7 separate regions of the Homo sapiens genome follow, and regions 1, 2, 3, 4, 6 and 7 are each linked to region 5. Evidence: promoter capture Hi-C in human tissues and cell types (Jung and others, 2019). All regions are on one chromosome and are shown on one strand. The core of a region is centred on a gene start or on the middle of the fragment in contact, and the rest is flanking DNA. Distances in the headings are between cores, read along the strand shown.

Region 1 (3,308 bases), core at 790-3,289, 350 kb after region 5:
CGACCGCAGTCATGTTGAATGATGGACCACCCTAACAACCTCATTTAACTTGATTACCTCTGTAAAGATTATCTCCAAATAAGGTCACATTCTGAGGTACTGGGGGTGAGGACCTTACCATATCCTTTTGGGGGACTCAATTCAGCCCTTAGCACCTGGCTCACTCACGCAGGGCTCCAGGTCAGCCCCTCTGGGACAGCCTCAGGACATTTGCACATTAAACGCCTGTGTTTCCTGCTTCCACTGCCTTCCCTGATACTGGAAAGGACTCTTTTAGCCTGTGCTGTAAGACCTCCTATTCAGCCAGCCCTGCTGCCTGGCCCACCACCCAGTTCCCTAACTCAGCCCCCAGCCCTCGCCTAGTTCCTGCCCATGGTCCCCTCTGTTATGAGTAATGAAAGAAGAGAATGGGCTCCTCACACCCCCCAAGAAGATGGACACAATTGTTAGCAGCAACAATGGCAGAAGCCAGAGTACATTGACTGTATCCTGGCCAGACTCCAAGTCACTGCTGGCCAAGCACGGTGGCTCACGCCTGTAATCCCAGCACTTTGGGAGGCCGAGGTGGGTGGATCACCTGAGGTCAGGGGTTTGAGACCAGCCTGGCCAACATGGTGAAACCCAGTCTCTACTAAAAATATAAAAATTAGCTGGGTGTGGTGGCAGGCACCTGTAATCCGAGCTACTTGGGAGGGTGAGGCACAAGAATCACTTGAACCCAGGAGTTGAGGAGGTTGAGGCTGCAGTGAGCCAAGGTCATGCCACTACACTCCAGCCTGGGCAACAGAGTGAGACTCTGTCTCAAAAAAAAAAAAAAAAAAAAGTCACTGCCAACAGCCATATAGCTCCAGCAGCCTGCATCACTGCCTGAGGCCTTTCTCTGGCCATAGGCACCTGCTTAGCCCATGCAGGGCAGACAGGAAGTATTAGAGAGCTTGGTTCATAGGAACAACCCCCAGCCAATAAGGGATAGGCTTCCTCACCCTTCAGGGGTGCAAATTGGAGGCCTGATCCTGTAGTCTCAGACAGGCCCTGGAGGGACTCAGCCCCAGTTGCTCCTGAATGCCCCTGGCCTTTCTTCCCTTTCCTGTCTCATATCCCTCACTCCTCTGCACTTGCCCCAATCACCTCCCAAATGCTTGTCCCTGAGTATGCTTCTGGGAGAAGCAGCTTACGCCCACTCCTTCGGATTGTCCCCACCCATGGCCCATCTGCACCTGGACACCAGTGATACCCAGATCCACGTGTGCACCCCAGAGCTCTCCTCTAAGTTCCAGGCTTGATCTCTCACTGCTGATGGGCCCTGGGCAGGCGTGTGGCCATAATGCAGACAATGCTGATCTGAGGGCCCCCATAAGGCCCGGCCCAGGGACCAGGACCAGCACCACCTCCACCAGGTGCTCGAACCAGACACTCCTCGCGACTGAGCTCTTCCTGTCCTCACCCTCCACCACCCCTTCTTGCCCTCAGTATATTATGGCAGCGATGCCTCCGAAACAGCTCTGAAATCTTCCCCAAGCCTCTTCAACACTCACAGACAGCCTCCCCAACTCATCTATCCTCCACACTGTGATAGCTACAAGGGTCTTCCTGAAATACAAATATGATCAGATCCCTTCCTTCCTGAAATCTTCAGTGGGTCTCATCAAAAATTTTAAATGACTAGCTCAGGCACCAGCCTTGAAGCTTCCTCATTTGGTGAATCCAGAGGCTGAGTGTCAGAAGCCCGGTGTCCTGGCTGCCACACACACCTGGTGGCATGGTGTTAGTGCCCCACATCCTCTCCCCTATTTTGAGGAAGTTTTGGGGGAGGTATATTAGTTTGCTAGGGCTGCTGTTACAAAGTGTGACAAACTGGGGAGCTTCAACAACAGAAAGGTATTGGCTCACTGCTCTGGAGGCTGGGAGGCCAAGATCAAGATGTTGGCAGGGGTAGCTCCTTCTGAGGGCTGTGAGGGAAGGATGGCATGGATCAGTTCTGGGTCTTCTCCTTGGCTTGTGCTTGGCCTCTTCTCCCTGTGTCTCTTCACATCCTCTTCTTTCTATGCATGTCTCTATTTCCAAATCTCTTCTTCTTCTAAGGTCGCCAGTCGTATTGGATCAAGACTTACCCAAATGACCTCATACTAACTTCATTCCCTCTGTAAAGACCCTATCTCCAAATAAGATCACATTCTGAGGTACTGGGGGTTAGGACAAGTTTGGGGTCAGGTGACACAATTCAGCCTCGAAGCTCCCTCCTTCAAGGAACAGGGACATAGGGGAGGGGTGGTGAGGGCCAGGCCAGGCCAGGCCCCAGGAGGCTGCCTACGCTCATCCCGCCTTGCTCAGGCAAGTCCTTCCTTGTTGGGGGACATCCCCATGGTCCTGACCTCCACAGAGATAAGGGTGGGCACTTCACAGGTGACAGGGAATTTTTGCATAAGTATCTGAGGCATTCATCATTGTCCTCCATGTCCACATCTCTTTTAAAGAAAACTATCCCAACCACAGTCCCAGGTGTGACCCTGTTTGTGCCATGACCATAGCTGATTCAGCCTGACCCATGGACAGGTATTTTGTTGGCTGCTGAGTAGGTAATGACTAAGCACAAAAATGACCAGCTGGGGCCAATCAAATTTTGCCTGTGAATTTGCACCATGACACACCATATTCAGCCAATTGAAGAAGGCCAGGACCCATGGCCATGCACAGGATGTACCTGGGGAAGAGCCAGCCTCAGAGGACCAAGAAACTAGACCCCTGTGCAGGCTGGGATCATGGGGAAAACCACAACTAAGCAGAGAAAAGAAAGGAGCTGATGAGCAAAAGGCAGCAAACTGGCCCTGGAGCTGCCTGGGTTTCCTCCTCCCAGACCCAACCCATACACACCCTGATGTTTTTTCTTTTCCCTCAGCTGGTTGACCAGCTCCCTGCTCTTTACAACAAACAAGACTGATAGAAGCAGGATGTAAAGATTTTAGATACCAGGACCTACTCCCTCACAGCCCCTCGCCCATGGGGGAATGCACACACAATCCCTACAACGGCTGTGCACACATGCAACAGAGGTACACATGTTTCACCATCTATGTACACATCCACGCACAGGTTAACATAGCCACACACATACACATATGCACACACATGCAGCAGGTTGGACACATGCAGACATACATGTACATACTCAGATACACAAACGTGCATGAGTGCAAACACACTGACTCCATAGAGAAAAGGGATTTCTGCTCCTCCCAGAATCTGCTTTTATAAGAATAGGGCTGTCATCATTTGACATGGCCCTTGTGAAGCAAAGGTTGTTGGAAATC
Region 2 (3,629 bases), core at 686-3,185, 300 kb after region 5:
ATTTCTATAAGGATGGTGTTACCATTATTACTCCACTTTAACCCTGACTCCTGTTCAGTGTAAATACCCTCAAGGTTCTAGCTGCAACCAACCCTGGACTGACTCTCCTTGACCCCATGGTGCCATCTGCCATGGGGGCCTGCCCTGGTCAAAACCTACCCATAGGCCAGGTGTGGTGGCTCACGCCTGTAATCCTAGCACTTTGGGAGGCCGAGGCAGGCAGTTCACCTGAGGTCAGGAGTTCGAGACCAGCCTAGCCAACATGGCAAAACCCTGTCTCTACTAAAAATATAAAAAAATTAGCCAGGCATGTTGGCACACACCTGTAATTCCAGCTACTCGGAAGGCTGAGGCTGGAGAATCACTTGAACCTGGGAGGCAGAGGTTGCAGTGAGCTGAGACTGCGCCACTGCCCTCCAGCCTGAGCGACAGAGTGAGACTCCATCTCAAAAAAACAAAACAGAAAACCTACTCATAAACTGTTGGAGCATCACTGAGTTACTATGGCACCAAAAATGTAAGGGAGTTAGGAAAGGACAGTGAAGTGGGCATTGGGATGCCTGAGTTCAAGGGTTTGTCTTGCTACACAATTGCAACATCACCTTAATCTTCTCTGGGCCTTTATTTTGTTTTACTATTTTATTGAGGTAGAATTTTATACTAAAATACACGAATCTTAACTGCACAGTTCTTAACTTTGTATACACTGTACAGTCACCATTAAGTTCAAACCCATCATTCCAGAAGGCTTCCTCATTTGTCCTCTTGGTCATACCTCCACCCAAAGGTAAGGATGGTTCTGACCACTCTCACCATTGATGAGTTTCATCTGAGCCTGTATTTCTGTCTGCAGATGATAAAGCTGGATTGGGCTTCTTTAGGCTCAACACTCCTAGCTCTGACAATCTGCTTATCTCTAATTCCTTTGTTTTGAAATTCAGTTGGCGTGGGAAACTGTGAATTTGTGCTTGCCAGGAATGCTGGGAGCTGCCTTTGTAAATAAGCTTCTTGATGTGAAGCTGCAGCAAGTCTCAAAGGGTTGGGTCTCCCTTCCTCATCCCCCAAAGCCACAGAACACTCATGCAGCTGGGCTGTACAGGGAGCCCTTGGTGTCCTGGTGACCTTTCACGCCAGGCCATGCTCAGATGCACAACTAGCAGTGCTGTGTAGGGAGGTTTGGGACCAGCCTCAGATTACACACATTTCCCAGGAAGGGGTAGGGATGCTGCTGTGGCAGGACTCTGTTGAGGCTGTGGCCTGCCCAGTGAGCTGGGAGAGCTGGAAAGGACAAGGTTATCCTGGGGACGGGCTGGGTATTCCCAGCCTGAGCTCCTACATCCACCCATGATGAACGCAGGGGCAGGGGATGAGTGAAAGGTAAGGGGCTGCTGTCTGGCAAGGCTTCCCAAAGTCATCTTCCAGCCCGCAAGAAGTTCACTGCTCATGGAAGAGTAAGAAAAGGGGTACTCTAGGACGTGTTACCTGAGAATGAAGTCAGGGTACATCTCAGAAGGAGACTGTGGACAGGTGAGGACCCCAAAGATCCTCTGAATCCTACAGACTTGGTCCAAATCAAACATTCAACATGCATTTCCAGGGATGTCACCCCCTCCTACTGGCAGTTCTCAGCAAGATCTTTATTGTTACCATGGCCACATAGGACAAGGAGAGCTTTGGGAAGGTCGTGTATGCACGGATGGAACTGTCACATGCCATTGTGCAGGTTGTGCACTGTACAACTGCAGGAGATGGAGGTGGCACTTTACATTGTTGCCTAGGGAATATAGACCAAGCCAGGGTAACGGTATTTCTGACCTCTTCTATGAAAACTTACATATTCCTCCCTAAGCATCACACTTGATAGGAAGCCTGAAAATGCTGAAAGACAATTTCTGAGGCAATATATAGTGATTAAGAACCAGACTATATGGGTTCAAATCCCAGCCATGCCACTTACTAACTGAGTCTCTTAGGTGAGTGTCTCCTCATGCCTCAATTTTATTGCCTGTAATGAAATTGGCTGGTGGTTGGTGGTCCCTTGGCTTGTAGCAGCATAAGAGAGAATATAGTAGTACTAACTTTGTGGAGTTGTTATAAGGATTAAATAAATCAATGCACATAAAGCGTTTAGAGAACAAAATCTGGTACACAGTCATCGCTTACTAAATGTTGGCTATTATTACTATTACCAGATTGGTAAAGACACTCTAGACCATGTCCTTGAGTTAATAGAGTAGGAATTGTTTAGCTTAAAAAGAGAACAGATTTAAGGGGGACGTTAAAACTCCTTCCAAAGTATAAGGATGCAGATTTTTGGCTGAGCATGAGGAAACTCTTCCCAATCATTGGCTCAGGTTATTTTGACATCTCCGTCATCAGCACTGAGCCATGTTTGGCAGGCTCCAGGGACATTCTGAAGGATTTTTATACCATGTAGGCTCTTAAGCTAAGAAATTCCTAAGGGCTCTTGCACCCTGGAATTCTATGACTTTTTAATTCATTACCTTGTCCAAATCAAGGTAACGGCTTGTAGCAGCATAACTCCACCCTTCACATGACATTCTCCATGTGTGTGTCTGTGTCCAAATTGCTCCTTTTTTATGAACAGCATTCATGTGCCAGATACTGTTCTTGGCCCTGGGAAATGGATGAACCAGAAAAAAAGTGACTGTCCTTGTGAAGCTATATTCTGGTGCTAGCAACAGACTATTCTCTATTTTCTAATCTTCAAATCTTCACCACAGCCAAGATTTGAACTTGTTTCTCTCTTGAGCATTGCATATGGGGCAACATTTGAGCTTCATGACTTGGATTTCAGCCAGCAATGGCCAAGAATGGTGAAGGTGTAAGAAGGGCAAGAAGGCAGGACTGCAGGCTGGCCCCGTTCATCTTGCTGACTTTGTAAGACGGTTAAGCAAGTACTGAGTGCATTTGAGGAACTGAGTATCTGTAGGCATTTTCTAAGTAAGACGGTTAAGCAAGTACTGAGTGCATTTGAGGAACTGAGTATCTGTAGACATTTTCTAAAGAAAAACGTCAAAATAAAATGGAGAGATTAAATGCAAAAGTGGTTCATGTCCTATGGGGAAATAAAATTATAGCCTTTCATGTGATCTTTTCTACACAGACAGAAATCTAGGAGTTAGCATACAACTTCATAGTGTCTGAGAGAGAATCAAAAGGTAAATAGCAAAGTCAAGCATGAGTACATTCTCTTGGAAAATTACATACTCTTGGATGGGCCCGTTAATGTCCCAGGATAATATTAAAAGGACAGGCCACTTCCCCTCTTTGTTTTTGCCTTATTTCTAGGTTTCAGGTATTTTTCTTACTCTTTTCACAAAGTTTGTTGAAGGTCGAGGGACACTCCAGGCCACTAGTGACTCAGTGACTCTTATGGGTCACAGCCTGACCATCTGACCTTTTCCCCTGCAGAAGTTTCCCAGGGCTTCCGTAACAAAGTACCACAAGCTGCGAGACTTAAACGACAGAAAATTACTGTCTCACAATTCTGAAGCCTAGAAGTTCGAGATCGGTCTCAGCAGGGCCAAGCTCCCTCTGAAGGCCTAGGAAAGATTCTACTCCAGGCACTCTCCTAACTTCTGCTGGTCCCTTGGCTTGTAGCAGCT
Region 3 (3,507 bases), core at 10-2,509, 430 kb after region 5:
GAAAGAAGCAGTCCATGAATTTTTCTCTTCCAGTGGTTCTTAAGCTTCACAGGGTTCAGAGCCACCACTGATAATCAGATGAATCAGATGAAAACTGATATGGTTTGTTTCTGTGTCCCCACCCAAATCTCATCTCTAGTTGTAATCCCCACATCAGAGGAGGGGCCTGGTGGGAGGGGATTGGATCATGATCATGAGGGCAGTTTCTCCTATGCTGTGTTCTCTCTCTCTCTCTCTTTTTTCTCTCTCTCTCCTGCTGCCATGTAAGACGTGCCTTGCCTCCCCTTCACCTTTCACCACGATTGTAAGTTTCCTGAGGCACCCCCAGCCATGCAGAACTGTGAGTCAATTAAGCCTCTTTTCTTTATAAATTACCCAGTCTAAGGTCATTCTTTGCAGCAGTGTGAAAATGGACTAATAAAAAAACCATAGGCCCTCTTCATGGAAAAAGAAATTGTTTTAATTTTTGGAGTCCTTATGTAAGAATCTGTTCTAAATCCTCTCGAACACATTCCAGGATGGAGCCAAGTGGCAAGGATGCTTTGGCCCATGACTGTAGAGGTGATTTTTCCTGAGTGGTACCTAGGGATAATTCCATGAGTTTCCATTTGTGGAAAATTGAGTATTTACTATAGGGATATTTTTGAGGACATTGTTCATTGTATCACACATGCCCTCCAGCTACAAATTCACAGGAGGAATTTCTCTCTCAGTTCCACTCCTTTGCTTCTCTTAAGGAGTTGTTTTTGTTTGGTTTATCTGTTTACTTTTATTTCTACATATTGTGAATAGTATAACTTGGTGGCGCTTCACTCTGGCCATACTTTAGAATCACTAGTAAGCTTTTATAACATACAGATGCCAGCCTAGACCAATTAAATCACTGTCTCTTGGAGTAGGGCCTGGAAGTATTTTTCAGAAGCTCACTAGTGTCCCCAACATACAGTCAGGGTTGAGAACCACTGATCCCTGGAGAGTCCTGCTCCTTGGCATTGGCCACTAGAAAACTGAAAGCCAGGTATGCTGGCTGCTAGCAGCAAATTCACTGGGCCTTGTGGCTTCCACTGGTATCATCTCTCACCCCAGACACCATCCTAGCCTTCAGTTCTCATTTTCCATTTGTCAACACATTTTAAATATGACTTTATCTTGTGGCAACATGTTCTGTGTTAGTTGGAGACTGTGGGCAGCCTACCTGAGCTTGCTTAAACTAAACATAATGAGAGGAGTCACTGTAATATCATGGGGTTATTTCATGGCCACAAGGAGAGGAAGTATAGTTGGATCAGAGGAGGAACAAAAACCAGGATTGAGAAAAATATAAGAAACCAAAGCATTCCCTCTCCTAGTCTCTTACCTTTCTCTTCCCCAAGTACTCTGTCTGCTTTCTCCTACGTATCTGTTTCATTCTGTCTTCCTCCATAAACCAGCTTTCTTTTCTTCTCTGTGAAAATAGGTCTCAGTCAAGCCAATTAGTTGAAAGAGACTGCTATCTCTAGGTACTAATTTCAAAATCTCAGGAGAAAGACTGCAATTGGCCCATCTTGGGTCAGCCATCTCCACCAGTTCTGTTCCGCTATGGAAGGAGGGTTAATAAGGTGTAAACATGATTTCCAGGCCCCCCACTATAATTGAGAGGGACAGTTCTTAGAGGAGGGAGGTCACAGCCTAGCAGATGTCCCTAAATATGGCTTAAACAGCAGTTGTAAACCACTTTGAGACTTTCTGCAATAAGAAAGAGTATGAGCAAATAAACTGCAAAGCTCAACGTGAATTACATCTGCATCTATCTGAGAATTTGGCCTTAGGATCATTATAACATTAGAGAGACAATAAGAAACTTTGTACAGAGTGCAAATGGGACCAGTATGTGCTGAGGGGCCAGGTAACATGGACATTTTGCATTTCTAACACTCCTCAAACTCACTGGTACCTGCAAAGGTCCTGTCTGAAGCCATTTCTGAATCTCACTTAGATAACAAACCTGTATGTCAAATCCATGTCAGAGGTGATTCTGAAAAACCTTAGTCATGGCCCTTTCATGGCTCTAGGCCTCACTTGCCAAAACCGCTTTAGAAAAATATTCAAAATGGAGAGCAATAATTTCATGTTAACAGACATTTCGGTTCACCAGGGTTCAGCTTACAAATCTCATGATGCTCAACACTGCTACACAAATTTTAACAAATTTCAAAGTCACTGCAGCAGAGTCATGATTAGACAGGCCTTCATTTGTCAGACTAACATCAAGCAACTTAAAAATGAAGCTGGTAGCATTAGCTGTAGCAGATAATCATCAGAAAATAGCTTACGTTTTACAGCAAAAATAAAAATAGTTGTCACTGTTAATATTTGCTAAGTGCCAGGACCTGTGCTAAGAAATTACTTTTCTTAATCCACATCATAACACCATAGAATATAGGGTAAGTTTTTATTAACTTTTTATTGAAGCATAACTTACTTTTCTAGGGCACATAGATGTTGGCCCCAATGAATATTCACAAACTAAACACACATGTAACCAGCACTGAGATCAAGAAATAGAACATGGCAAGCACTCTGAGGTCCCTATTTGGGTTCCTTTCCAGTTACCATGCCTATGCAAGGGTGACTGTTGTCCTAATATCTAGCAGCATGGATTAGTTTTGTCCATTTCTGTTCTCTATACAAATGGAATAACAAATAGGTACTGTTTCGGGTCTGGCCTTTTTCACTCAACATTATGTCATCTGAGATTCATTCACATTGTCACATGACTACAGACCATTTTTGCTTATTTCTGTATGGTATTCCATTATGTGAATAAGACAAAATTTATTCAGTCTACTGTTTTTGGACATACGGGTAATATCCCGTTTTATTTTTATTATTACAAATAGTTCTTCTATGATCATCCTAGCACATATTGTTTTGGTGATTACTTCAGTGCATTCCTATTGGGTATATAACTAGAAATGAAATAGCTGGAGAGTAAGACATGCATATGTTCCGCTTTATTAAATGCTGACACTTTACCAAAAGAAGTGTACAAATTTATGTTTCCACCAGTAGTATAGAAGCGTTCACTTTGCCCCACATTCTCACCAGCCTTTGAAACTTCCTTTCTCCTTTGTAGCCTTCCGGTGAGTGTGCAGTGGTGCATCGTGACGTTCATTTGCATTCCCTTGATGATTAATGAAGTCAGGTACCTTTTCACATGGTTGGCTTTATTTGCTTATTTATTTTTCCACATGGATGTTTTCTTTGAGAAATGTCTACTCAAGCCTTCTGCCCATTTTTCTACTAGGTTATCTTTTTCTAACTGATTTGTAAGAGTTCTTCATATATTCTGGATACAAGACCTTTGTGGGATATATGTGTTGAAAATGTCTTTTCATTTTTGCATTACATTTTTACCCTCTTATTGATGTCTTTTGAAAAATCAAAGTATAGTTCGTCCTTGTATTTTTCTTTTTCTGGTTAGCAATTTTTGTGTCCTTTTAAATAAGTGGGCTTTGCTTACTCAAG
Region 4 (3,794 bases), core at 1,251-3,750, 470 kb after region 5:
GATGACGTGGGGTCTTATAGGTCACCATGAGAGCTTTACTCTAAGGTGTTGGGAAGCCAGACACCTGCAGACATGTCTGCAAATACCTTTGAGGTTTGTCTGAATCCTCAGCTGCAGAGGAAAACACAGGAAGTATGGGAGTTCCCCACAAGAGTTCACATTTGAACTAGGTTGTTTTTTTTTTAACCGCAACCTCTGCCTCCTAGTTGCAAGTGACTCTCCTGTCTCAGCCTCTCGAGTAGCTGAGATTACAGGCATGTACCACCACACTGGCTAATTTTTTGTATTTTTGGTAGAGATCGGCTTTCACCATGTTGGTCAGGCTGGTCTCGAACTCCTGACCTCAAATGATCTGCCTGCCTCAGCTTCCCAAAGCGCTAAGATTACAGGTGTGAGCCACCGCACCTGGCCTTGAACTAGGCTCTGAAGGATGACCAGGAGTTTTTCAGATGGGGGAAAGAGGAGCAAAGCATCCCAGATAGAGAGACTACTATATTCAAAGGCTAAGAATGGTGAAAGAGCAAAACGTGTTCCAGGGTGGCTGGCCGTACACCTGTCTGGCGTTCAGGACAGGAGGATGTTAGAGGATGCTGCAGCAGAATGCAAGGCTCAGGTGTGGTTGGGGTCAGATAGGGAGGACCGTACACAAGGCATCATCTCTAGCTTCCTTAGGAACACATTCCCTTCTTTGAGAACTGCATTGGCCCCTAATGAGCTGAAGTCACTTTATTACTTACTGCAGCATAAACGAGCGCTGTTATGAGAGGCATATGGCCCATCTCCCCGCTCCTTCTTCCCATCCCACCCTCGCTCCTGAAATCCAGGCAGCTGCCTTGGGCAGCATCAGAAAGTCCCATGTGCTTGAGGCTTTCAGACAGCTTTTCCCCAATAAGACAAGCTCTCTACTTAATCTGAAGAAATGGAGTGTTATTAAATTAATTTCTGAACTATCCTTGCCTTGTCCTTGAACTAAAAAGCTAAGGACCCTGGAGTAAAAGGCAGGGGATGAGGTGGGAGGGGTGAAGGGGAGAAGCAGAATGAGGCAGGGCAGCAAAGAGGCAGCAGAGAGGCAAGTTCCTGACCCAGGTCTGCCCGACAGACTCGTTCCAGCAGGTGGGCTGCCTCGTGCTGTCCAAGGCACTGTGTTGAAGAGGTTCAGTAAGTAAAATAAGAAATGAGAGTCCTCTGATCAGCTACTGTACCCAGGGCCCTAAAAATGATGGAAAGGTGGCCTCCCTCTGCCATGGGGTCAGCCCAAAAGTAATTACCAGGATACTTTGCAGATTATTGAATAAGTCCCTGGAACCGGCACACTGATTTATATAAGACCTGGAGATTTTGAGAGATTTGAGAGAATATTAAGAATCAATCAATATTTTAATTTATTTCAGGGTCCTGGAGACTTTAGCTCTGTAGAAAACCACAGGGAGGAAATTGTGACCTTTGAAATATGGCTGGCTGGCAGGCAGCAGGGAGGTACCTCGGCAAAGAGCCTGTTTGGCAGCTGCTGCGGGGAAAGACTTCTCTGTGCTGGAATGTTCTCTTTCTTCACAGCATCAGTCAGGAATTTCAAATAGCCAAAGAGGGGAGGGCCTCAGGGTGAGTGAGCTCTGGAGCCCTGGCAAGAAGGCTCTTGGCTTGAATGTGCATAGCTTACTCCTCCCCAGAGAGAGTCCCCAGGGCCTGGAGAGAGGAGCCTGCAGACTTTGTGTCTCTGCCTAGGAGGCGCTGCTGTGATCTGGAGACGTCCTCGTAGAACCACCTGATGATGTGTCATCATTGCAGGAGATCCAGTACCTTCTCCCCTGGGTCACTAGGCTCCCTAGGCCATACTCTTCCTGTGTCCTCCCCAGGGCTTTACCAGACATCTCATAGAGCACGTGAGCACCAGGTCTCGGACTATCACCATCCTCCTGTCTTATTCCGCAGGAAGACTGTAAGCTCCCTTCAGGCAGGAATGATGTCTGATCCATTTCTGTGTCCCCAGTACCTGGCATCATGCCTGGCCCAGGATAGGTAGATATGAAAAATAATGTGTTGAAGAAATGAATGGTCAAATGAACTAATGCAAGAAAAATAAACATTTGTTTGTAAAAATCAGTTATGTTTCAACAGCAAGCAGACGGCACATTCAAATGTAGTAATTAGAGAAATTCAGAAAGGTGAAGACAGGGTGGAGGTAACTGACCAAAGCATGCAGCACCCTGGGGCTGGCAGCAGTGGGAGAGAAGGAGCTGTTAGCACCCCCAGGCCTGATGCGGCTAAGAGAGAAGCGGGTCCCAGAACCTGGAGCAGGCCACTAAAACGGAGAGGTGGCCTTTTGCAAGGGAGGCAGCCACACCCTCAAACCTGCAGGGAGGAAGTGGGGGAACAAATACCTTGACCTCGCCCTCTGTCCTTCCTTGGATCTCCTCCCTGTGTTCCTCACTGGCCAAAGCCAACCAGAAGTCAGAGGCCAGTGGAGCTCCTTGATCCAGAGTGGAGAGTAGACAAAAGATCCCCAGCAAAGGGCTGCCAGGTAACTCTCTGCCTATTCCATCTGGCTTGTCCAGCCCCACGAGAAGGGCAGACAATGGGCACCCCAATCAGTAGTGCCAACTACTGGGGCACCCCAGTAGTTCTCAATAAGGGGCAGTTTTGCCAGCCGCTGGGGGGATTTGTTTTTCACAACTGGAATGGGGAGGGTGCTACTGGTATCTAGTGAGTAGAGGCCAAGGATGCTGCTAAACATACAAAAATGCAAAGGACAGCACCCACAACAAAGAACTATCCAGCTCAAGATGTCGATTGTGCCATGCTGGGAAAGCCTGGCCTTAATCAAATGTTGAGAGGAACTCAGGCACACTCTGTGCTGCCCTGGCTTCAGCCAGAGAACATTGCCTCACTGTGCTGGAAAGGGCAGCGTCATTTGGTCCAACCCAGAGCCATCGGCCAGTAAGTGACCAGTGTCTGACTTTGAGTGTCCCTTCGGGAAGGTGCTTTAAGGAGAAAGTCTATCTGCTCTCTGTCTCTCCTCACTGACAGTGATGTCCTAGGGTGTCCAGAGTGGTAGACGAGTGGCAGGGAGCACTGCTCAAGCCATGGGCAATTAGCTTTCCCCTGGAGGCCAAAACCTCCCCACTGGGCTCACCACCTCCCCAACTCCCCTGATATTGAGGGGAACGAGAAAGCTTCTCGTTCCCCTCATTTTCAGCTTTACATTCACACCATAAAAACATTTTGTAAAAGTGAATCAAGTCTTGCCATCTGTCTCTCTCACTTTTATCATGTTTATAATGAAAAGAAGAGTCAAGAGGAAATGGAATCCAAACTGCAAATGGTGTGCTGCTCCCTGGTAGCTGAGATCCACCCGAGCAAGGCAGGGACTTGAGGAAGAGGGTGGCCCTTGTGGCGCAGCATCATGTACAAAGTGAGTTCCATCAGAATCTCATGCGAAGTTCTCATGGCAGCCCTGGGAAGTAGAGCTTGTAATCCACATTGACAGATGAGGAAACTAAGGTTTTTCAGGGGAGATAAGTACTTCAAGGTTGTACTCCCAACAAGTAGCAAAGGTCTTAAACTCTGTACTTGGCCATCAACTCCAAGTTGTAGACCAATGTTGCTTCCTATTTCATCCTGACGTGAAATTGTTAGCTTACTGCTACTGGGGTTTAGGTACCATATTGAAAACTGTTGAAGTTTAAGTGACTGTGGTACTTAAGAGAGCTCTATTTTACTCCCTGTCACAGCTTAGAGATTTTGTCCCTCATCTGACCCTCCAGGGTCACAGCCCGGGAGAGAATAAGTTCCATGTG
Region 5 (3,241 bases), core at 537-3,036:
TGCCTTCTCTTTCTAGTCCTGTGGTGGTTTAGGAAGATCCCAAGAAGGGCTGAACTTCCAGGGCTCCTCCTGGGAGAGGGGGCAGAACAGAAGGAAAGATTACACCTTAGCCTGTACTCAAGGGCATTGCTTGTAAGTCTGTCCAACCAGAAGAAAGTTCAGATCCTTTATTTGTGAGCTGGATTATACCTCTGGAAGAGAAAAAAGGGAGAGACAAGTTTTACTCCCTCCTGGAGGCAGATTTCTCTACCTTGATTTTTTCAGAAATTGTGTACATTCTCTCCTCTCATGTATGTATCTCCTACATACCATACACACGATTCTTCTCCCCCTTCTATACCCCAGCCCACGCCAACCCACACCCACTGTTCTCTCTTCCAGCTATGGATCAAGGGAAATCTTCCCGGGTCCCTAGTTGGTATCTGTTTTCATAGCATCTTTGGGGAGGTTTTGTAAACAAAGCATTGGTAGAAGGGCCCTTGGCTGATGGGGCCATAAAGTGCCCTTTCTTTGGTTTTGTGCTCTCCCTCTCTTGTGGGGCCAGTCATTTGAATCCAGAAGATATCCCAGGATGGAGCTGCCCTGAGTATTTCTGTGGCTGGTTGGAAGGCTGGCACACAACAAAGTGGGCATGCAGCAGGCTGCCTCCCTGGCTTAGGCCAAAAAAATAAAGCAACTCAGAGATGGAGAAGAGGCAGGAAATCTATGTTGTAAAAAGTCTTTGTTTAAAGGAATTCCGTTCAGGTGCTGAGAACGGGGTGTTCAGCAGAAGAGGATAATATGAGTAAACATTGGCAGTAAGAACAAACACAGCAGTATCACTGTCTGCGTCTGGCCTCCTCCTGTGCTCAGTCACAGGTCTCTCCCACCGCCCTCTATGATAGCAATCATAAACAACATGTAGAAGGGCTTTACAGTTCACAGACCTCAGTTCCCCTCAGCGGCACTTCCTTGCAGGGTTTCTTTATGCACTGGATGACCCTGGTTCCACATAAATGAAAACTGGGCTTAAAGGACACATCCATGTCCTGGGAGCTGTACAGACTTAAAGAAAAACCTAGATAGGGGCAAAAATTGGGGCAGGCGGTGGGGGTGGGGGGTGGGGGGTGGGGGGGGGGAAGAAGTGGTCGAGAGAGTCATCTAATAGGTCACCAATGTTGCTTCTGGGAGGTTGCCGGAGGGTTGGCTCCTTTCAGCCAGGTTTAGGGCCAGGTCTGGACACACTCAGGAGGCCGGTGGCTGAAGGGCAGAGGGCAGGGTGGAGGCCCAAGTGAGGCCAAGGAAGGAGTGGATGCCGCTGGGGCTGGCACTTCCTTGGCTTCTCAGCGTCCTGGCAACCAAGAAAAGATTCCAGGAGTCGACTGGTGGCACCAATGCGAGAAGCCCCGGGCGGATGAAAGAAGCTGACCCGTGCGAACCCCCCACCCCCTCCACAAAACCAGGAGATTCCTGCCCAAGAGCAAGAGATGGAATTCCCCTAACGGAGGAAGCTGCCGACCTAAGGGCTGGGACTGGCAGCGCGCCCTCTCCGGGAGCTTCAGGTCTGGGGCAGCCTGTGCAGGCGCGGGTGGAGGCCCGGGCGCGTCCCTGGGGGCGGGAGCCAGGGGCGGCCAGCAGGTGGGGCCTGGGAGCTGGACTCCGCCCCCCGCTCCCTCCCCGTTGGTCCGCTGCCGCTCAGCACCGGCCCCTCTCCCGAGCCGGAGCGCGATTGGTGGCAGCGCTTGTCGCTCGGAGGGGGCCGGGCCGCTCTGCTTCGCGGCTCTCCCCGCCGCCGCTGCCGCTGCCGCTGTTCTCCTAGCAGCGCGGGCCGGTCGGACCGCCAAGGCAGCCGGCGCTGGCGATGGGAAGCGGCGTGGCCGCCGACACAGGCAGTGGCAAAGTTTCCCAGACGTACACATCTGGACGCGCGGCTGCCGGCTACCCGTGACCCCTCTAGGAAGGGTTCAGGGATTTTTAATTTGGAAAAAAATCCACCTGGTTTCCTTTGTCAAGGTCTCTCCGGGTGGCCAGCGGCAGGAGCTGCAAACTTGGGCACGGCGGCTACACCGGCAGCGGACCGGGCTTTGGAGAACCTCGGGACTCAGGTGCTGAGGTGCCCAGCGGCTCCGGACGTGCTACGGGGTGCGAGCGCGGGGGAGTTCGGGGCGCACGACAAGGAAGGGCCCCCGGGAGCTCTATATGGAGGAAGGAGCCCAGAATGGTGTGCACCAGGAAGACCAAAACTTTGGTGTCCACTTGCGTGATCCTGAGCGGCATGACTAACATCATCTGCCTGCTCTACGTGGGCTGGGTCACCAACTACATCGCCAGCGTGTATGTGCGGGGGCAGGAGCCGGCGCCCGACAAGAAGCTGGAGGAAGACAAAGGGGACACTCTGAAGATTATTGAGCGGCTGGACCACCTGGAGAATGTCATCAAGCAGCACATTCAAGGTACGGGCGCCCCGGAAACTTGGGTCGCCCATGAGGCCCGGGAGTGCCCCGCGCGGCGCGGGGTGCGCTGGGGCTGGTGCGCATCAACTCAGCCACGGCGGGGCTCTGGGGCCGCAGATGCGTGGTAGTCGTGGGGCCTGCGTGTGAGCTCCTGCCTGCGTTCGGGACCTTCTGTCTGCGGCCGTGCGCTCTTCCCCGGGGCACACGTGTGTGCGCAGGGCTGCACGAGCGGATGTGTGCAGCTAGCTGGCGGTATGGGGGCGCGCTGCGCACGTGTCCAAATGTGCGTGTGACTCTGGGCTGGTTGCTCGCGGGCTCTCGGGATCGCACACAAGTCCGGCTCAGAGTGTGTGTGCATGTGAATGTCTGTGTGTGTACAAGAGGGAACGCGCGGGCAAACGAGCTTTTTTGGCCACTGTAGGCGTCAGGCGAGATGCCCGCGCGGCGGCCCTGACTATTGGCAGTTAAGACCCGCAGGCTGCCGGACAAGCGAGGCTAGGAAAATTGCGTTGTATCAGCCCCAGCCCCAGTCTTGCTGTGATCCCGTTGGTAGGCGATAGGGAATGCAAGGAGCCCTCTGTGGTTGAAAAGCCGCTTGAACCTATAGCAGTCCCTACCCCCACCACAGCCCGCGGGTCCAGGACCCTCTCCAGGAGCAGGTGTCAACGCCGGGAAGTAGCGCTGGAGTCTCTGTCCACTGTGGTGATGACTCCGCCCAAGACTGGAAGAACACGCCCTGGGCTGCGCCTTCCCCGCGGAGCCGCCCGGGACCGGGTGAAGGCCGATCCCTACTGTAGCTCCACTCTCAG
Region 6 (3,443 bases), core at 390-2,889, 450 kb after region 5:
ACACGGTAGGCCCTCAGTAAATGTCCAGAATGATTTAAGGGATGCCTCGGGCATCTAGAGTTTCTCACCATATCTGTGTCCGTTCCTATAATTTCCTCACACTCGATGAGCCACGTGGGCTGCTGTAAAGCCTGTGGTTTATGAAAAATAGTTTAGGGCTCAAATCCCAACCAGGGGGGCACAAAATCCCTGGGAGGAAGGGCCCGGAATGTCACTGAGGCTGGCAAAGAGACGGCATGAAATAAAACTAGACCAACCTCACTCATAAATATAAATGTGCAAATTCTAGACAAAACGCCAGGAAATTGAATTCAACAGTATATTAAAAGAATAATTTACCACAGCCAAATAGGGTTTACCGAAGAATGCAAAGCTGTTTTAATATTAGTAAATCTGTTTATAGAACATATCAATGGGTCAAATAAGAGAAACCATATGATTATCTCAAGAGGAGCAGGAAAATCATTTATGAAGATTCAAAATCAGTTCCTAAAGGGGACCTTCTTTAAAATGCTAGGACTAAATGATGCAAGTGGACAGTGATGGGAATGTTTTTAGTGGGAGGGCACTCCACATCTGAAGGTTTTCCAATGTTTGGGAAATTCCCCGCTTTCTGAGTTTGGGTGGGAGGCAGAGCCATCTTTCACGGTAGAAATGGAAGAAAGGCCAAGTGCTTACTGTCCTGGGTATTGGCCCCCTCCTTGCAGCAACAGTGAGGCATTTATCATAAGCTCAGATTGGGGAGCAAAAAAGCCAGGCAGCAGAGAATCTTTTATGGCAGTTCCAGTAATAGCAGCAACATCTGTTTCCAGGGACACGGTGATAGAAGCACAAGTAGCTGTATCTGGGCTCTGGGGACCAGCAGAGTTGGTGTTTCGAGATGTGGCATCCCATGGTCAAAGATGGCAGCAGCCATTCCTCTGTGTTCCATGTCATGATCTGCACTGTGGTGCCAGCTGCCCAGGAACTCTTTGTTCCTGACTTCCTGGTGATTCTCTAAACCATCCAGAATCCTGCCAACAAATTTCTTTTTTGCTTAAATCAGCCAGAATCAGTTTCTGTTGCAGGCAACTAAGAAATCTTAAAGACACAGAAGGTTATTTCTTTAACATAATAAAGAACATCTTATTTTTTAAAACCTGTGGCCAGAAGTAATACATAATGTCATTCCTATTAAAACAAAGAACAAAACAAGAATTTTTGTTGACTGCATATTTCTTTTTTAAAAGTCAGGTTTACTGAGGTACAATTTGCACACAATAAAATGTATTCACTTAAACTGTACAATTTGATAATTTCAGCAAATAAATGCCATCGTTGAAGCACCATGATATTCAATACACAGAGCATCCATCACCCCAAAAATTTCTCGCAAGTTCCTTTATAGTTAATGTCCTCTTCCACCCCAGCTCTGGAAACCACTGATCTGATTTCTATCTCTATAATTTGGCCTCCTCCAGAATGCCATATAAATAAAGTCAGATGGTAGCCTTCTGAGTCCTGCTTCTTTCACTCAGCAAACTGTTTTTTGAGATTCATCCATGTTGTTGCATGAATGATATTTCATTGTATAAATATTCCAAAATTTGTTTATCTATTCCATGATTGATGAATATTTGTATTGCTTTCAGTTTGGGATTATTATCAATAAATCTGCTATAAACATTTGTGTATACAAATTTTTTTCTTGGGTAAATATCTAAAAGTAGGAATGCTGGGTCATATTAAATAAACGTTTAACTTTATAAAAAACTATCAAATTGTTTTCTAAAGTGGCTGTGCTGTTTTGCATTCCCACCAACACTTCATGTGAGTTACAGTTGTTCTGAATCCTCATCAGCACTTGCTATTATCAGTTTTTAAATTTTAACCATCTAGTGGATGTACAGTGATATCTTGGTTTGACATTAATTTTTATTTTTCTAATGATTGATGATTTTGAGCATCTTCTCATGTGTCTACTTCCCACCAATACATCTTTTTTTTTTTGGTGAAGTATATGTTTAAACTGTTCACTTATTTATTTATTTGGCTGTTTGTCTTCCTTTTACTGTGTTGTAAGGATTCCTTATATATCCTGAATACAAGTTCTTTGTCAAATTTGTGTTTTGAAAATAGTTTCTTCCAGTCTGTGGCTTGTCTTTTCATTTTCTTAAAAGTGTCTTTCAAAAAGCCAAAGTTTCCATTTTGATAAAATTCAATATATCAATGTTTCAATTTCATTCGATTTATCATTCTTTCATGATTTATGCTTTTTGTGTCATATCTACAAAACATGTTACCTAACCCAAGGACACAAAGATTTTTTTATCTTACACTTTCTTATAAAAGCTTTATAGTTTTAGCTCCCACATTTAGTCTATGATTCATTTTAATTTGCTTACATAGAATGAGAAAAGTGTCAATGTTCATTTTTTTTTGCATGGGAATGTAAAAATTTTCTGGAACACTATTATTATTTAACATCATTATAGAAGTTCTGGTTGACATAATGAGATACAAAACATAAGTAAGTTGTATAGTTATTGGAAAGGAAGAGAAAAACTATCATTATTTATAGTCAATATGGTTTTGTATCCAAGAAACTCAAGAGAATCTATTGAACACACATAGAATTAATAAGAATTCAATAAGGTGATTCATTACAGAGTAAACATGCAAAAATCAATAACTTTTTAATATACTAACAGTAATTATTTAAAGAATATAAGAGAAAAGAATCCCACACACAGTAACAGCAAAGACTTAAATGCCTAGAAGAGAAAATAAAAGAGAAAGAGAAAGTGCAAGGCCTAGATAATGAAAATCACAATGTTTCATTGAGGATATAAAAGAAGTTAACTAAATATAAATGTGTAAATACCTTATATGGAGAAACTCAATAACATAAAGATGTTAATTTTCCCAAATGAACTTATAATATTGGAGTTATCTGGGGAACATGACAAAATGATTCTAAAATTCATCTGGAAAGAATCACTGAAAAAGTGTGTTGAAGAGCAGTGAGGAGGACCAGATACAAAAATATTTTATAAAGATATCATAATGAAAATATTGTGTTAAGGACCTAAAATCAAATAGACGAATCAATATGCTAGAATAGCTAAATTAGTCTGAATCAGAACGTGATATATATGAAAACTTTATGTATGATGACTGAAACATCACTAACCAGTTGGGATCAGGATTTATTGCAGGGTAGCAAGAATGGAAGAAAGGAGACCAGTTCACAGGCTATCAGAATAGTCCAAGAGAAATACGATGGCCGAGAAGTTCTCTTGGGTTCCTAACCCAGAGCTGTTCCATGGCCCTCAGGCACGTAGAACCACCCTCTGGGGAGCAGGACATCCCAGGCTGGTGGGCAGGTGTGCAGAGGGGATGGAGCACATCCAGGGCCCTCAACAACAAAGTTGAACACTATCCCAGCTGGCAAAGGAAAAAGA
Region 7 (3,802 bases), core at 692-3,191, 370 kb after region 5:
GGCTCCAAGTGAAGGTGAATGTGGCAGTTGAGATCCCCATCGGCCAAATGTTAGCAGCTCATCACAGGTTCTCTGCTTTGGGGCAGGAGCCACCTGGGAAAAGGGGGCACCATCAACTGGCCAATGAGAAGTGTGTGTGACTATTGCCAACAAGGTCACGGAACACCTGACCCACCTCCCTTCCAGCCTGGCAGAACTTAAGCTTAGCTTTAAAACCTCAAAGGCAATATTTACAGATAGGAAGCTGAAGGTGTTTGATCCACAGAGAGGTGAAGCAATTTTGAAGACCACAGATGTTGCTGACAATGTAAATGCCTTTGAGGGCAGAACAGAAACACCACAAACAGAGCATGGCCACTGGGACAGAGTCAGCTCATTTGTACCTGGTGTCGGACAGCAAATATTCTCCTCAGGGTTGCATCATCCATTACAACAACCCCGTGGCTACTCTGCACATGCCTGAAGCCTAATAGCAGAAAATAGCAATGCTTTGAAGCAGAAATTCCTGGGATTGAAATCTTTCTTGTCACTCACTAGCTCTGAGTCTAACTACCCCCTCTGGGATTGTCTCTGTAAAAGGGGTTCATGAATTCATTTAATAAATATGTATTGAGCATCTACCATGTGCCAGGCATTGCTTATGGTACAGGGATGGAGGACAGAACTACGTAAATGAACACCCCTGTTTTCTTGGGGCTTGCATGTTGTTTAGGGGAAACAGACAATAGACAAGTTACACACACACACACACACACACACACACACACACACACACACACACACGTATTATATACATATGGCATGTTAGAAGTGCTGTGAAATTATATAAAGTAGGGAAAGGGGATAGAGATGCCAGGGGCGAGCAATTTTATAGGGTGTTCAAGGGATATGTTCCTGAGAACGACTTCTGAGCAACCTGAAGGAAAAAAGGTAGCAAGCCAGACTGAGGGTTCACGCAGACAAAGCAGCATGTGCAAAGGCCCTAAGGTGAGGAAGTACCTGGGGTGTCATGCTTGAGAATAAAGTTATCTACCCTCTAGTGTTGATAAACACACACATATAGGTATATATATGCATACAAATAGATGTATGTACAGTCAGCTCTCCATATCTGTGGGGTCCTCATCTGTGGATTCAACCAACTTTGAGTCAAAAATATCTTTATCATGTATATATTACATATATACTTCAACAGAGATGAGGTCTCACTATGTTGCCCAGGTTGGTCCCACATTCCTGGCCTCAAGTGACCCTCCTGCTTTGGCGTCTCAAAGTGTTGAGATTACTGGTGTGAGCCACTCTGCTGGGCCAAAGATATTTAAGAAATCAATGGTTGCATCTATACTGAACATGTAAAGACTTTTTTCTTGTCATTATTCCCTAAACAATACAGTATAACAATTATTTACATAGCATTTACATTGTATTGGGTATTCTAAGAATCTTGTGATGATGTAAAATATACAGGAGGATGCAAATACTATGCCATCTTAGTACAGGAACTTGAGCATCTGTGGATTTTGATACCCTTGGGAGTTCCTGGAACCAATCTCCATACTGAAGAGCGACCATATAGGTGTATATGTGTGCATATGTGTATATGTATGCATGTGTTAGTGAGTTAAATTCAAGTGACAAAGAATCCCAGATCTCAGTGCTTCACAGCCTGACATGGGTCAGATTCCTCTACCTCCAAGCAGCATTCAGTATTCTTGTGTTCCCACACTAGCATTGTCTCTGCCACAGCCCCTTTGCAACAACTTGGTAGAATCATTGCTAGTTAAAGTTGAGAGAAGGACCTGCAGTCAGCACAGGTAGAAAAAAACCCTAGATTAGACCACTCCTCAGTCATTCATATGTTAGCATGTAGCACCTCTGAACACGAGCGATGAAGTCCAGGCTCAGGATGAAAGTCATGGTGAGGATGAATGTTATCACACGTGAGGTTCTATCCTGATTTGATTTTGCCTGGGATTTCAGAGGCTATGTGGAAGTTTTTGCTCAAGTGCTGATATAAGATTATCCAAAAATACACCTTTTGGATCGGATATTCCACTAGCCATTGATTGGACTAGAAAGCTCTTGATTAGCTAAACAGCTCAACTCTGGGACCAGCCAAAGGGAGTATATCCCAGAGCAGGAAGGTAGCATTCCTAGGTCATGTTCTGTTCACAGCTGGTTTTACATATATGAAAGTTAATAGTCCAATATCTTCAGAAAGTAGAGAATGTAGGCCAATATGTTTTTGGTACTGAAGCAATTTACCTTGGATCCCAGCTTAACCTAATAATCCAGCTCATCATCACTATTGAAACTGAGGCCATCAACACTTTGGTAGAGACTTCTTGTCCTATAGATACCCTAATCCAGGGACTAGCCTCACCCATGCCCAGACACTCTCCAGCCTGAGCACACTGTAGTCACCAAATTCCGGCTATAACTAATTGAGGTGATCCCATAATACTTCATCATGGTGTCATCTCTGAGAGCTCTTGGACCACACAAGCTGTGTCTCAGGACTATCAGAGGAGAGAATGGGGGAAGGATGTATTCAATGGCTTTTATCTTTCATTGGCCAGTATTTTATTTTACGGGATGTTAACATTCTTGTACTTCTATGTTCCACTTGTGTGATGCAGAGTAGGGTTTTACAATGGCATCAACGGAGAGGTCCCAGGGTAAAAGGCAAGCAGTACATGAACATATCTCAGTTGAGAAACTGTTAAGTTGTACCTGTGTAAAATTGATTAAAGCCCATTGCTATGGTCTGAATGTTTGTCCCTTCCAAAACTCATGTTGATATTTAATTGTCATTGTAACATTCTTAAAAGGCGATTAGGCTACAAAGGCTCCACTCTCAGGGGTGTCGTTTATACCATTATACAAGGGTGAGTTCAGCCCCCTCTTTCTCTCTCTCATCCCCTTACTTCCTGTCATGTGATGCTAGCAAGAAGGTCCTGACCAGATGCTGGCACTTTGATCTTGGGCTTTCCAGACTCCACAACCATGAGCCAATAAATTCTGTTTATTATAAATTACCCAGTCTTGGGTATTCTGCTATAGCAGTATGAAACGGACTAAGACATCCATGCAGCACTGGTCATTGCAACAGTTGCTGCAATAAGAGAAAGGTGACACTGAGAAGTAGTGCATAAGCGGTGTTTAATTCATAGAAACTTAGTGGTTTCTATTGCTATTATTTTCATTATCATTATGAGCTAGGCACAGATATTCTTGAACATGGGCCTCTACCCTGGAGTCTGGTGCTCTGAAGTTTGACCTTGGGCCAGAGTTCAGGCACTCTCCAGAGGACTTACATTTCTGATGCCAGACATAACCTGACAGAGTAAAAGCTGTCTTTTATAGCCTTACCTGGACTAACACACCCCAATGGCTTTGTTCCTTAACAGTTGGCTCATTTGCCCCCATTGTGGGCACAGCATGAAAACTAAGATGCCTCAAAAATGGTAAGGATATTGGTGCCCACGCTTGTAAGATTTCATGTATTTTTTTTCATTGTGTCTTGCAGGTAGCTGGTAATGAGAGCTAAGAGGAGAAAGGATGGGGGATGGTGAAGCTGGGTGTGATGAGAAGCACACTGGACTTCAAATGAGACCATTTTTATTGAAATTTCAGCTGTGCCTTTTACATGCTTTGTGACCATGGGCAAGTTACTTACCTGACCTCACTGAGGATTCTTTCCTCAATTATAAAATAAAGCAGAAATGCCATCTGTTTGTGAGAAAACATAAGTTATAAAGCCCAGCACTTCACCTGACACTAAGTACCTACTTTGCAGGGG

Evidence for each region. Contacts are between HindIII fragments. The study calls those that stand out against the background at their distance.
Region 1: a contact is called between a fragment that was not itself captured here and the fragment with the promoter of GALNT18 in region 5, in 1 of the 25 tissues and cell types used here (neural progenitor cells).
Region 2: a contact is called between a fragment that was not itself captured here and the fragment with the promoter of GALNT18 in region 5, in 4 of the 25 tissues and cell types used here (bladder, dorsolateral prefrontal cortex, mesenchymal stem cells and 1 more).
Region 3: a fragment that was not itself captured here is called in contact with the fragment with the promoter of GALNT18 in region 5 in 1 of the 25 tissues and cell types used here (IMR-90 fibroblasts).
Region 4: a fragment that was not itself captured here is called in contact with the fragment with the promoter of GALNT18 in region 5 in 1 of the 25 tissues and cell types used here (stomach).
Region 6: a fragment that was not itself captured here is called in contact with the fragment with the promoter of GALNT18 in region 5 in 1 of the 25 tissues and cell types used here (bladder).
Region 7: a contact is called between a fragment that was not itself captured here and the fragment with the promoter of GALNT18 in region 5, in 1 of the 25 tissues and cell types used here (mesenchymal stem cells).

What each region holds. Positions count from the first base shown.
Region 1 is chr11:11,266,793-11,270,100 of GRCh38, reverse strand. No RefSeq gene overlaps it. Among named protein-coding and RNA genes, the nearest start is that of CSNK2A3, 85 kb to the left of the region's middle. The HindIII fragment of the contact is 5,514 bases long and covers 1-3,308 here.
Region 2 is chr11:11,318,440-11,322,068 of GRCh38, reverse strand. The region is part of intron 9 of GALNT18 (polypeptide N-acetylgalactosaminyltransferase 18); the gene reads left to right. Among named protein-coding and RNA genes, the nearest start is that of CSNK2A3, 33 kb to the left of the region's middle. The HindIII fragment of the contact is 7,313 bases long and covers 1-3,629 here.
Region 3 is chr11:11,186,052-11,189,558 of GRCh38, reverse strand. No RefSeq gene overlaps it. Among named protein-coding and RNA genes, the nearest start is that of LINC02752, 72 kb to the right of the region's middle. The HindIII fragment of the contact is 3,554 bases long and covers 1-3,036 here.
Region 4 is chr11:11,146,113-11,149,906 of GRCh38, reverse strand. All of the region lies in intron 3 of LINC02752 (long intergenic non-protein coding RNA 2752), which reads right to left. Among named protein-coding and RNA genes, the nearest start is that of LINC02752, 33 kb to the right of the region's middle. The HindIII fragment of the contact is 6,611 bases long and covers 1-3,794 here.
Region 5 is chr11:11,620,550-11,623,790 of GRCh38, reverse strand. GALNT18 (polypeptide N-acetylgalactosaminyltransferase 18) reads left to right here and starts at 1,786. Exons shown (of 11, transcript NM_198516.3): 1 at 1,786-2,432. The coding sequence starts at 2,198. RefSeq lists silencers at 1,484-1,843, 2,594-2,673, 2,694-2,763 and enhancers at 1,346-1,846, 1,964-2,043, 2,254-2,303, 3,044-3,241, 2,936-3,241. The HindIII fragment of the contact is 13,654 bases long and covers 1-3,241 here.
Region 6 is chr11:11,165,393-11,168,835 of GRCh38, reverse strand. It overlaps LINC02752 (long intergenic non-protein coding RNA 2752), which reads right to left. Exons shown (of 8, transcript NR_187402.1): 4 at 679-1,013. Among named protein-coding and RNA genes, the nearest start is that of LINC02752, 52 kb to the right of the region's middle. The HindIII fragment of the contact is 3,344 bases long and covers 1-3,311 here.
Region 7 is chr11:11,247,284-11,251,085 of GRCh38, reverse strand. It overlaps LOC124902631 (a long non-coding RNA gene), which reads left to right. Exons shown (of 2, transcript XR_007062594.1): 2 at 3,530-3,747. Among named protein-coding and RNA genes, the nearest start is that of CSNK2A3, 100 kb to the left of the region's middle. The HindIII fragment of the contact is 3,685 bases long and covers 99-3,783 here.